Regions from separate parts of the Homo sapiens genome. Here all the other regions are linked to region 2. Evidence: promoter capture Hi-C in 16 types of primary human blood cells and fetal thymus (Javierre and others, 2016). All regions are on one chromosome and are shown on one strand. The core of a region is centred on a gene start or on the middle of the fragment in contact, and the rest is flanking DNA. Distances in the headings are between cores, read along the strand shown. Region 1 overlaps DDB2 (damage specific DNA binding protein 2). Region 2 holds the start of MYBPC3 (myosin binding protein C3). Region 3 holds the start of NR1H3 (nuclear receptor subfamily 1 group H member 3).

Region 1 (2,851 bases), core at 94-2,593, 120 kb before region 2:
GCCAATAGCTATTATTTTTGCAACTCATTATCAAGTTCTTCCAAAGCTTTCAACACGGCTTTTATAGTAGTAATAATGGCCTTTGTTTTTGCATGTATTTCATCAATTTACATGCTTAATTAAATTTGGTGTTAATTGCAATAAAAGATACAATTGGAATAAACAGGTTTGAGAACAACTACAACCAACCCTTGGTTTGGTAAGCATAGAACTCAACTGGAGGGAGCCGAAGATTGTCATACTACCAGCAAGCATTTGGCAGACCATGAGCATTAGAATGACCGTGAGGTTAGAATGTTTTATAGAGGGAAGGGAATGTGCCAGTTAGTATGTTGTGATAGCTAAGTGGTTGTTGCATAGAAGAACTTGTACAGGTCTGTGAGGCTGGGATAGCTGCAGCGTAAAGAAGAAGTGGAAAAGGTGGAGAAAGGCGGACAAGTGGAGAACTTTACATCTTGGGGATGTAAAGTTCTTAAAACAGTGCCTGACTGGGCGCAGTGGCTCACGCCTGTAATCCCAGCACTTTGGGAAGCCGAGGCAGGCCAATCACCTGAGGTCAGGAGTTCGAGACCAGCCTGACCAACATGGTGAAACCTGTCTTTACTAAAAATACAAAAATTAGCTGGGTGTGATGGTGTGGGCATGTAATCCCAGCTACTCAGGAGGCTGAGGCAGGAGGATCACTGGAATCCAGGAGGTGGAGGCTGCAGTGAGCTGAGGTTGTGCCACCGCACTTCAGCCTGGGCGACAGAGCAAGCCTTCATCTCAAAAAAAAAAAAAAAAAAAAAAAAACACACAAAGAAAATCCCCCCAAAAAACCAGCGCCTAGTACATAGTAAGCACTTAATAAGGTTAAGCCATTGATATTCTCATGATTATTTTCATCATCATTTTCATGAATGTTTGGAAGAATAGGAAGGGGCACAGATCTGACTCCTGCCCTCCTAACTCAGCCACTGCTCTGAGCTGAAGCTCTTCTAAAGAGAGCACTGTGGGAATAACAAATTAGGGCACATCCATGTAATGGAATACCTCAGCAATAAAATGAGATGAGCTCTTGATACAGCAAACTCAGATGAATCTCAGAGGCATGATGAGTGAAATGAAACAAGACAGTCTCAAAAGGTTGCATACTGCCTAATTCATTTACATGACATTCTATTTTTAATTTTATTTTATTTTATTTTTAGAGACAGGGTCTTGCTCTGTCACCCACGCTAGAGTGCAGTGATTCGATCGCAACTCACTGCAGCCTCGACCTCCAGGCTTCCGTCATCTTCCCACCTCAGCCTTCTGAGTAGCTAGAACCACATGCACCTACCACCATGTCTAAATTTTTTTTGTGTGTGTAGAGATGGGGTCTCCCTATATTGCTTAGGCTGGTCTTGAACTCCTGGCCTCAAGCAATCCCCCCGCCTCAGTCTCCCCAGGTGTTGGGATTACTGTGCTCGGTCTATAGGACATTCTATGAGGGCAAAACAATAGTGATGGAGAACAGATCAGCCAGGGGCTGGGGGCGAGGGGAGGGTGTGATTACAATGGGATACCACGATGGAGTTTTTGGGCTGTTGCAAATGTTCTGCATCCTGATTTGGGTGGTGGTTATTTAAGTCTATACATATGTTAAAATTCAGAGAACTTTATATCCCAAATTTGCTATATGTTAATTAAAAAAAAAAGTAAAAATAAAGCCTTAAGAAATGAAGGGAGGCGGGGCACGGTGGCTCACGCCTGTAATCCCAGCACTTTGGGAGGCCAAGGGTGGCGGATTACCTGAGGGCAGGAGTTCCAGACCAGCCTGGCCAACATGGTGAAACCCTGTCTCTACTAAAAATATACAATTTAGCCATGCGTGGTGGTGGGCACCTGTAATCCCAGCTGCTTGGGAGGCTGAGGCAGGAGAATCGCTTGAACCTGGAAGGCAGAGGTTGCAGTGAGCCGAGGTCGTGACAGAGCAGGACTCCATCTCAAAAACATAAAAATAAAAATAAAAATAAAAAAAAGAAAGAAATGAAGGGGCCAGACAAAGCGGCTCATGCCTGTAATCTTAGCACTTTGGGAAGCCGTGGCAGGGGGATCGCTTGAGCTTAGGAGTTCAAGACCAGCTTGGGCAACGTGACAAAACCCCATCTTAAAAAAAAAAAATAGAAAAATTAGCTGGGCATGGTGGCACGCACTTGGGAGGCTGAGGTGGGAGGATCGCTTGAGCCCAGGAGATTGAGGCTGCAGTGAGCCGTGTTTGTGCCACTGCACTTCAGCCTAAGTGACAGAGAAAGACCCTATTTCAAAGGAAAAGAAAAAGAAGTGAAGGCCCTGTAGAGAGCGTCCTAGTGTCTAAGCTGACCTGGCCCCAAGCGCTGCTCGAGGGGTGCTTCTGTGACGGCGCAGCATGTGTGCCCAGGCCTGGTTCCTCACGGCCAGGCCCATCATCACTCACTGGCTTTTTCCTTCCTCGTGTTAGATTGGAGCTGGAGGGAGCATCACTGGGCTGAAGTTTAACCCTCTCAATACCAACCAGTTTTACGCCTCCTCAATGGAGGGAACAACTAGGCTGCAAGACTTTAAAGGCAACATTCTACGAGTTTTTGCCAGCTCAGACACCATCAAGTGAGTAGTTTAACTAGCAGGGGAAAGGGCTTCTAAGCTTAGGTGTAGTTCCGGCAAGAGCATCCAGATCCCATTTCCTTAACCCAACCTGGCCCAGGGAAGAAAGGAAAGATGTCAGCCACTTTCCGCCCTTCTTTCTCTTTCTCAAACTGCTCCTTGGCTGCCCTCACTTTGGTCCAGGTGGGTTACTGCTTTGGGAAGGTGTTCTGGAGCCTCAGCTCTTCTGTAAGTCATACCTGTATTA
Region 2 (2,734 bases), core at 193-2,692:
CGAACTTGACCTTGGAGGAGCCAGCAATGACTGCGTAAGATCCCTGGTCGGCAGGGCCCACTTCCCGCACTGTCAGCGTATGCCGTGTGCCCTCTGTGGCCAGGCCGTACTTGTTGCTGGCGCTGATGTCACTGCCTCCGCGCTGCCAGCGCACCTTCACTCCTGCCCGCTCTGTCTCGGCCTCGAACACGGCAGGGCTGCCTGCGGCCACTTCCACTGACCGTGGCTTCTTGCTAAAAGCTGAGACTGAAGGGCCAGGTGGAGGCTACAGCGGCCCCTGGTTGGAGCGTGCACCCCGCCCCTGCAGCCCCTCTCAGTAAATACTGTGCTAGCACTTTCTATGCATCCCCTCACGTAATACTCTACCAGTTCTCTGAGGTAGTTGCAGTTATTCTGTTCATTTCTCAGAGGAGGACACTGAGGCTCAGAGAAGCTAAGCGGCTCCTCCAAGATCACACAGCTAGCAGTCGGGAGAGCCAGGGCTGTGGTCCTGACCTCCCAACAAGACTTTTTCTGCATGTGTCCACTTTCCCTGCTTGGAGACACCCGTGATGAACCCAGCTCCCTTTCCCCCAACCATTTCGGGCCCTTGGCAGGGGGCGGGGAAGTCTGCCTACTTGGAATGTGGCCAAATTTGTCCTCCAAGGACCTCAGGCTGGGTATCAGCAACTGAGATAAAGCTGGCCTGGGAGGGCGCTGGGGGATGGGGACCTGGATCTCTGCCCTGGACAACCTTCATAAGGGCACAGCCCAGGCCCAGGTCCCTGGGCTGTGATTTTCCCTGCCCTTGGCCTGGGTTCAGGGGCTCCTGACTGTCCTCTCTCAGAGAAGAGGGGCTGTGTCACCCTCAACATGGGGGCCACACCGTACAGGCTCATGAAGCAGATAATGTCACAGCCAGGAGGAACCAACCCAATGCCACCACCACCCCCGGCACCCCAGGTTGGGAGACTGAGACCCATAGTGGGTAGAGACTGGTCTGAAGGCATGCCGTGAGCCTGGCTCAGCTCCATACTAAACGTGGGCTCTGTCCGCGGGGAACCTTGCTGTGGAAGGTGAAGGCAATGGGACAGGGAAGGGGTCCCTTTGCATTCTCAGAATGGGTTGACCCCGGGTGCTTCCTGTCTTGGCTGTGTCCCCTCTCTGCGTCCCTGACCTTGGGTTTACCTTCACCTCTCATCAGAGGGATGGGAAAAAGAAACCGAGAATCAAAAAAGGACCCTGGAGGACTGGCTGCCCCTGTCCTGGGGCTCAGAGGCCACGTCCTCGTCAACCCCCTCAAGAACTCCCTCCTAGCCCTGCTCCCCAATTGTAGACACCCCCCTGCTCCCACACTTAGACCCAACCCCAGTCCTAAAGCTACCTGGCTTCTTCCCCGGCTCAGGCATCCTGAGAGACGTCACACCAGGCACGAAGCAGGCACAGGTCACCCAAAGAGGGACTGAGTGGGGTCCTGTCCTTCCCACTATATATGGGGACCTCCCCCCTCCCCAGGCTCTGCTTATCTGCCTCCTGTCCAGCCACCTGCTAAATATAGATGAATTCCAGAGAGCTGAGGTCTCTCCAGGGAGAAGGTAGGGCCACATTGTCCCTGGCTGGCTCCTGTCCCTTCCCCCCTCACCCCCCGCAGCACAATTCTGCCTCCCCAACCTTTGGCAAGCCTCAGGGGTACTCCAAGCCCCGTGTGTGTCCCTCTTACAGCAAATTGTACGGTGGGAGCATGCTGGGCCCATAACCCTAAGGCTAACGGGTCAGGAGCATCCTCGCAGGCAGTTCAGGCAGTGGTCATGTCCACAGACCCTGGGGCCAGGGTGTCTCTGAGTCCTAGCACTGCCATCTCTTTAATCTCAAAGCACCTGGTTTCCTCATCTGTAAAGCGGGGTGGGTGAAAGCAGCACCCACTGCACAGGATTGTCACACGTATGAAGTGGGTTTATAATTTTAAAAATGTTAGGCCGGGTGTGGTGGCTCATCTGTAATCCCAGCACTTTGGGAGGCCGAGGCAGGCAGATTATTTGAGGCCAGGAGTTTGAGACCAGCCTGGGCAACATGGCAAAACCCCATCTCTACTAAAAAAATAAAAAATAAAATAAATACACACACACACACAAATTAGCCAGGTGTGGTGGTGTGGACCTGTAGTATCAGCTACCCAGGAGGCTGAGGTGGGAGGATCGCTTGAGTCCAAGGAGTTCCGGGCTGCAGTGAGCCAAAATCGCACCACTGCACTGCAGCCTGGGTGACAGAGTGATAATAATAATAAAAATATTATTTATTATTATTTTTTATTATTAATATCTCAAAGAATAATAATAAAAAAATAAAAATGGGCTGGGCGAAGTGGCTCACACCTGTAATCCCAGCACTTTGGGAGGCTGAGGCGGGCAGATCACTTGAGCTCAGGAGTTCGAGACCAGCCTGGGCAACATGATGAAACCCCATCTGTACAAAAAATACAAAAATCAGTCAGGCATGTGACGCACACCTGTAGTCCCAGATGCTCGGGAGGCTGAGGCAGGAGAATCACTTGAGCCCGGGGGGTCAGGGCTGCAGTGAGCCATGTTCGTGCCACTGCACTCCAGCCTGGGCAACAAAGTAAGACCCTGTCTCAAAAAAAAAAAAATAAAAATAGAAGAATGAAGACACAACACCATTTTGCCTTCTCTTGTGGCCCTGCAGTAGGACTAGGGAGCTGCAGGGTTGGGCTGCAGTGAGCCCTCTGGGGTTGAGGAGG
Region 3 (2,700 bases), core at 128-2,627, 94 kb before region 2:
TTTCCTATCAAAGGCTCTCCTGGCCTCCTCTCTTATCTGTGGCCCCCGCAGGGCACCCACTTTCAGAAACTCCCTGGAAGGCCCAGCACCTGCCTCTCTCCACCCCTGGATTTCTACCAGCTTGGCTGAGGCCTGGGGCTAGTGGGGAGAGCTTCTTGGCCTCTTCCCAGAGGCAAGGGAGGAGGAGGGAGGCTGGGAAAGCCGCTGGGGCTCAGTGTCGCAATTCCGGGCCGTGCTGGGACCTTTGCTCCACGAGGTGCCTATGGAGGGGAGGGAACACGATTCTGGAGGCTGCTGGGATTGGGGTGGGGGTTCCTGGGAGGCAGTCCTTTTGCAAGAGCTGCTAAGAGCGCTGGGTAAGGAGAGGAAGGGGAGAGACATGGAACTTGGCTGGTCTGCAGGGAAATGCCACTGTTTTGGCCGGGAGTAGGGGGCGGGAGTGGCGGGAGAGGGGGTGGCCGGCTGGGGAGGAGCCAGCCTGGTGGAGAAGCTGCCCTGTGGGCGGGGGTGAGGAGGGGAGGGCTGTGGTCACCAGGCAGGAAGGAGGGGTGGCCTGACCCCTCGGCAGTCCCTCCCCTCAGCCTTTCCCCAAATTGCTACTTCTCTGGGGCTCCAGGTCCTGCTTGTGCTCAGCTCCAGCTCACTGGCTGGCCACCGAGACTTCTGGACAGGAAACTGCACCATCCTCTTCTCCCAGCAAGGGGGCTCCAGAGACTGCCCACCCAGGAAGTCTGGTGGCCTGGGGATTTGGTGGGTCTGCTCCTTAGCAGTGGCCTGGGGCTCTGTGTGTGTATCTGGGGTGGGGTCGGGGAATGTCCTAAGGATCTGAGAAGGGGGTTTCTGGGGAGAAGTGAGGGGTGATGGTGATGGAAGCTTGGGACAGGAGCAGGACTCTGGGTCCCAGAATAACTCATGAGGGGCTCAGGGGAGGAGGTCCTCTATGTGAATTGGGGAGATTCTTGGAGACAGGTTTGTGCTGGGACCCTGGAAAGTGGCACGAGCGAGGTTCTCTAATAAGCAGCGTGTTTCACTGGGTGGAGTGAGCTGTCCTCAGTGTTGGAGTGAGGGGGAAGGGGCCCAAGAGAAGCAGGGCAGATGCACCCAAACATTCCCTGCTGGCCTGGAGGGGACTTTGGGGGAGAAAAGCCGGCACGGTGGCTGGGAGCCCAGACTTTGGAGTCAGAGGAGGGTTGGAGTCTTGACTCTACCGCCGCCTAACTGTGTGACCATAGTTACTTAATCTCTTTGAACCTCAGTTTGCTTATCTGTAAAATGAGTTTAAGAATAGTCCTGAGCCAGGAGCAGTAGCGTGCGCCCATAATCTCAGATACTCAGGAAGCTGAAACCTGATTGCTTCAGCCCAGTAGTTTGAGGCGATAGTGTCCTATTATTGCACCTGTGAATAGCACTGAGTTCCAGCCTGGGCAACATAGAGAGACCCCATCTCAAAAAAAAAATTAATAGTTTTGACCTCAGAGGGATATTATGAGGAAAGCACATAAAGCCTTATAACAGGCTGGGCGCAGTGGCTTACTCCAATAATCCCCACACTTTGGGAGGCCCAGGTGAGAGGATCACTTGAGCCCAGGAATTCCTAGACTAGCCTGGGCAAAATAGGGAGAACCTGTCTCTAAAAAACATAATAGTAATATAATAAAGCCTTAGTACAGGCTAATATATGGCAAGTAAATGTTAGCTGATATTGTTGATATTGATAAAAGGGAGGATCAGGTGGAGAAGGGAGCTGAGGCCAGAAAGGAGCCCAGTTCTAGAAGAGTATAATCTGGGTCCTTCCTGCAGGACAGTGCCTTGGTAATGACCAGGGCTCCAGGAAGAGATGTCCTTGTGGCTGGGGGCCCCTGTGCCTGACATTCCTCCTGGTAAGCTTCATTCCATCCCTCTCCCCTGAGCCCAGACCGCAGGCTCCACGCCTCCTGTAGGAATCAGCCTCCTTCATTACCTGCCTTCTTCCTTCCTCCAGAGAGCAGTCCAGAGTCATTCTTAGTCGTGCTTGCCTCCCGCCCAGATCACCTCTCCCCTGGTTCCAGTGCCTGGCCCTTGCAGGCACCCGCCCAGTCCTCCCCAGTCTGGATTTGCTGCTAGAGAGTTGGCCAGCTGAGTGCTTACCCTGCTCTGGCTTTGAAGAGTTTTATCTGATCTCTGAAATGCATACACTCCAGCCCCCCAAAGGGACAAGGATTAACATCTTCATTTAAGGTCCTGAGATGTAAGAAACTACAAGTGACTAGTCCTAGCTAGAGCCCACACAGACTCTAGGGTCCCAAAGCCTGAGCTGGGACTTTGCTGCCCTCTAAGGGTGGGGATAAGTTTGCAGTTTCCCAGCTAGGACGCTGGGCCGTGGAGCCGGGATGGGGCCTGAGACCCCCTTGTGCCTCTCTTTTGGAGCTCAGACTCTGCGGTGGAGCTGTGGAAGCCAGGCGCACAGGATGCAAGCAGCCAGGCCCAGGGAGGCAGCAGCTGCATCCTCAGAGAGGAAGCCAGGATGCCCCACTCTGCTGGGGGTACTGCAGGGGTGGGGCTGGAGGCTGCAGAGCCCACAGCCCTGCTCACCAGGGCAGAGCCCCCTTCAGAACCCACAGGTGAGGAGCTTCTGGGTTTGGAGGAGGTAGGGGTCCAGATTCCAGGTCCTGGATCTGGAAGAGGTTCCTTGGGGGTTTTTACTTTATATATAATCTCATG

What was found. The method cuts DNA at HindIII sites, captures the fragments that hold promoters and counts their contacts. A CHiCAGO score of 5 or more calls a contact.
Region 1: a contact is called between a fragment that was not itself captured here and the fragment with the promoter of MYBPC3 in region 2, in 1 of 17 cell types (erythroblasts). The highest score is 6.0, in erythroblasts.
Region 3: a fragment that was not itself captured here is called in contact with the fragment with the promoter of MYBPC3 in region 2 in 2 of 17 cell types (endothelial precursors and erythroblasts); the score reaches 7.9 in endothelial precursors.

What each region holds. Positions count from the first base shown.
Region 1 is chr11:47,230,353-47,233,203 of GRCh38, forward strand. It overlaps DDB2 (damage specific DNA binding protein 2), which reads left to right. Exons shown (of 10, transcript NM_000107.3): 4 at 2,462-2,607. Among named protein-coding and RNA genes, the nearest start is that of DDB2, 17 kb to the left of the region's middle. The HindIII fragment of the contact is 2,598 bases long and covers 45-2,642 here.
Region 2 is chr11:47,351,260-47,353,993 of GRCh38, forward strand. MYBPC3 (myosin binding protein C3) reads right to left here and starts at 1,443. Exons shown (of 35, transcript NM_000256.3): 1 at 1,364-1,443; 2 at 1-246. The coding sequence starts at 1,388. RefSeq lists enhancers at 1-86, 87-1,067. The HindIII fragment of the contact is 20,166 bases long and covers 1-2,734 here.
Region 3 is chr11:47,257,380-47,260,079 of GRCh38, forward strand. It overlaps NR1H3 (nuclear receptor subfamily 1 group H member 3), which reads left to right and starts at 617. Exons shown (of 10, transcript NM_005693.4): 1 at 617-750; 2 at 1,801-1,880; 3 at 2,412-2,600. The coding sequence starts at 1,838. RefSeq lists an enhancer at 2,057-2,625. The HindIII fragment of the contact is 1,012 bases long and covers 872-1,883 here.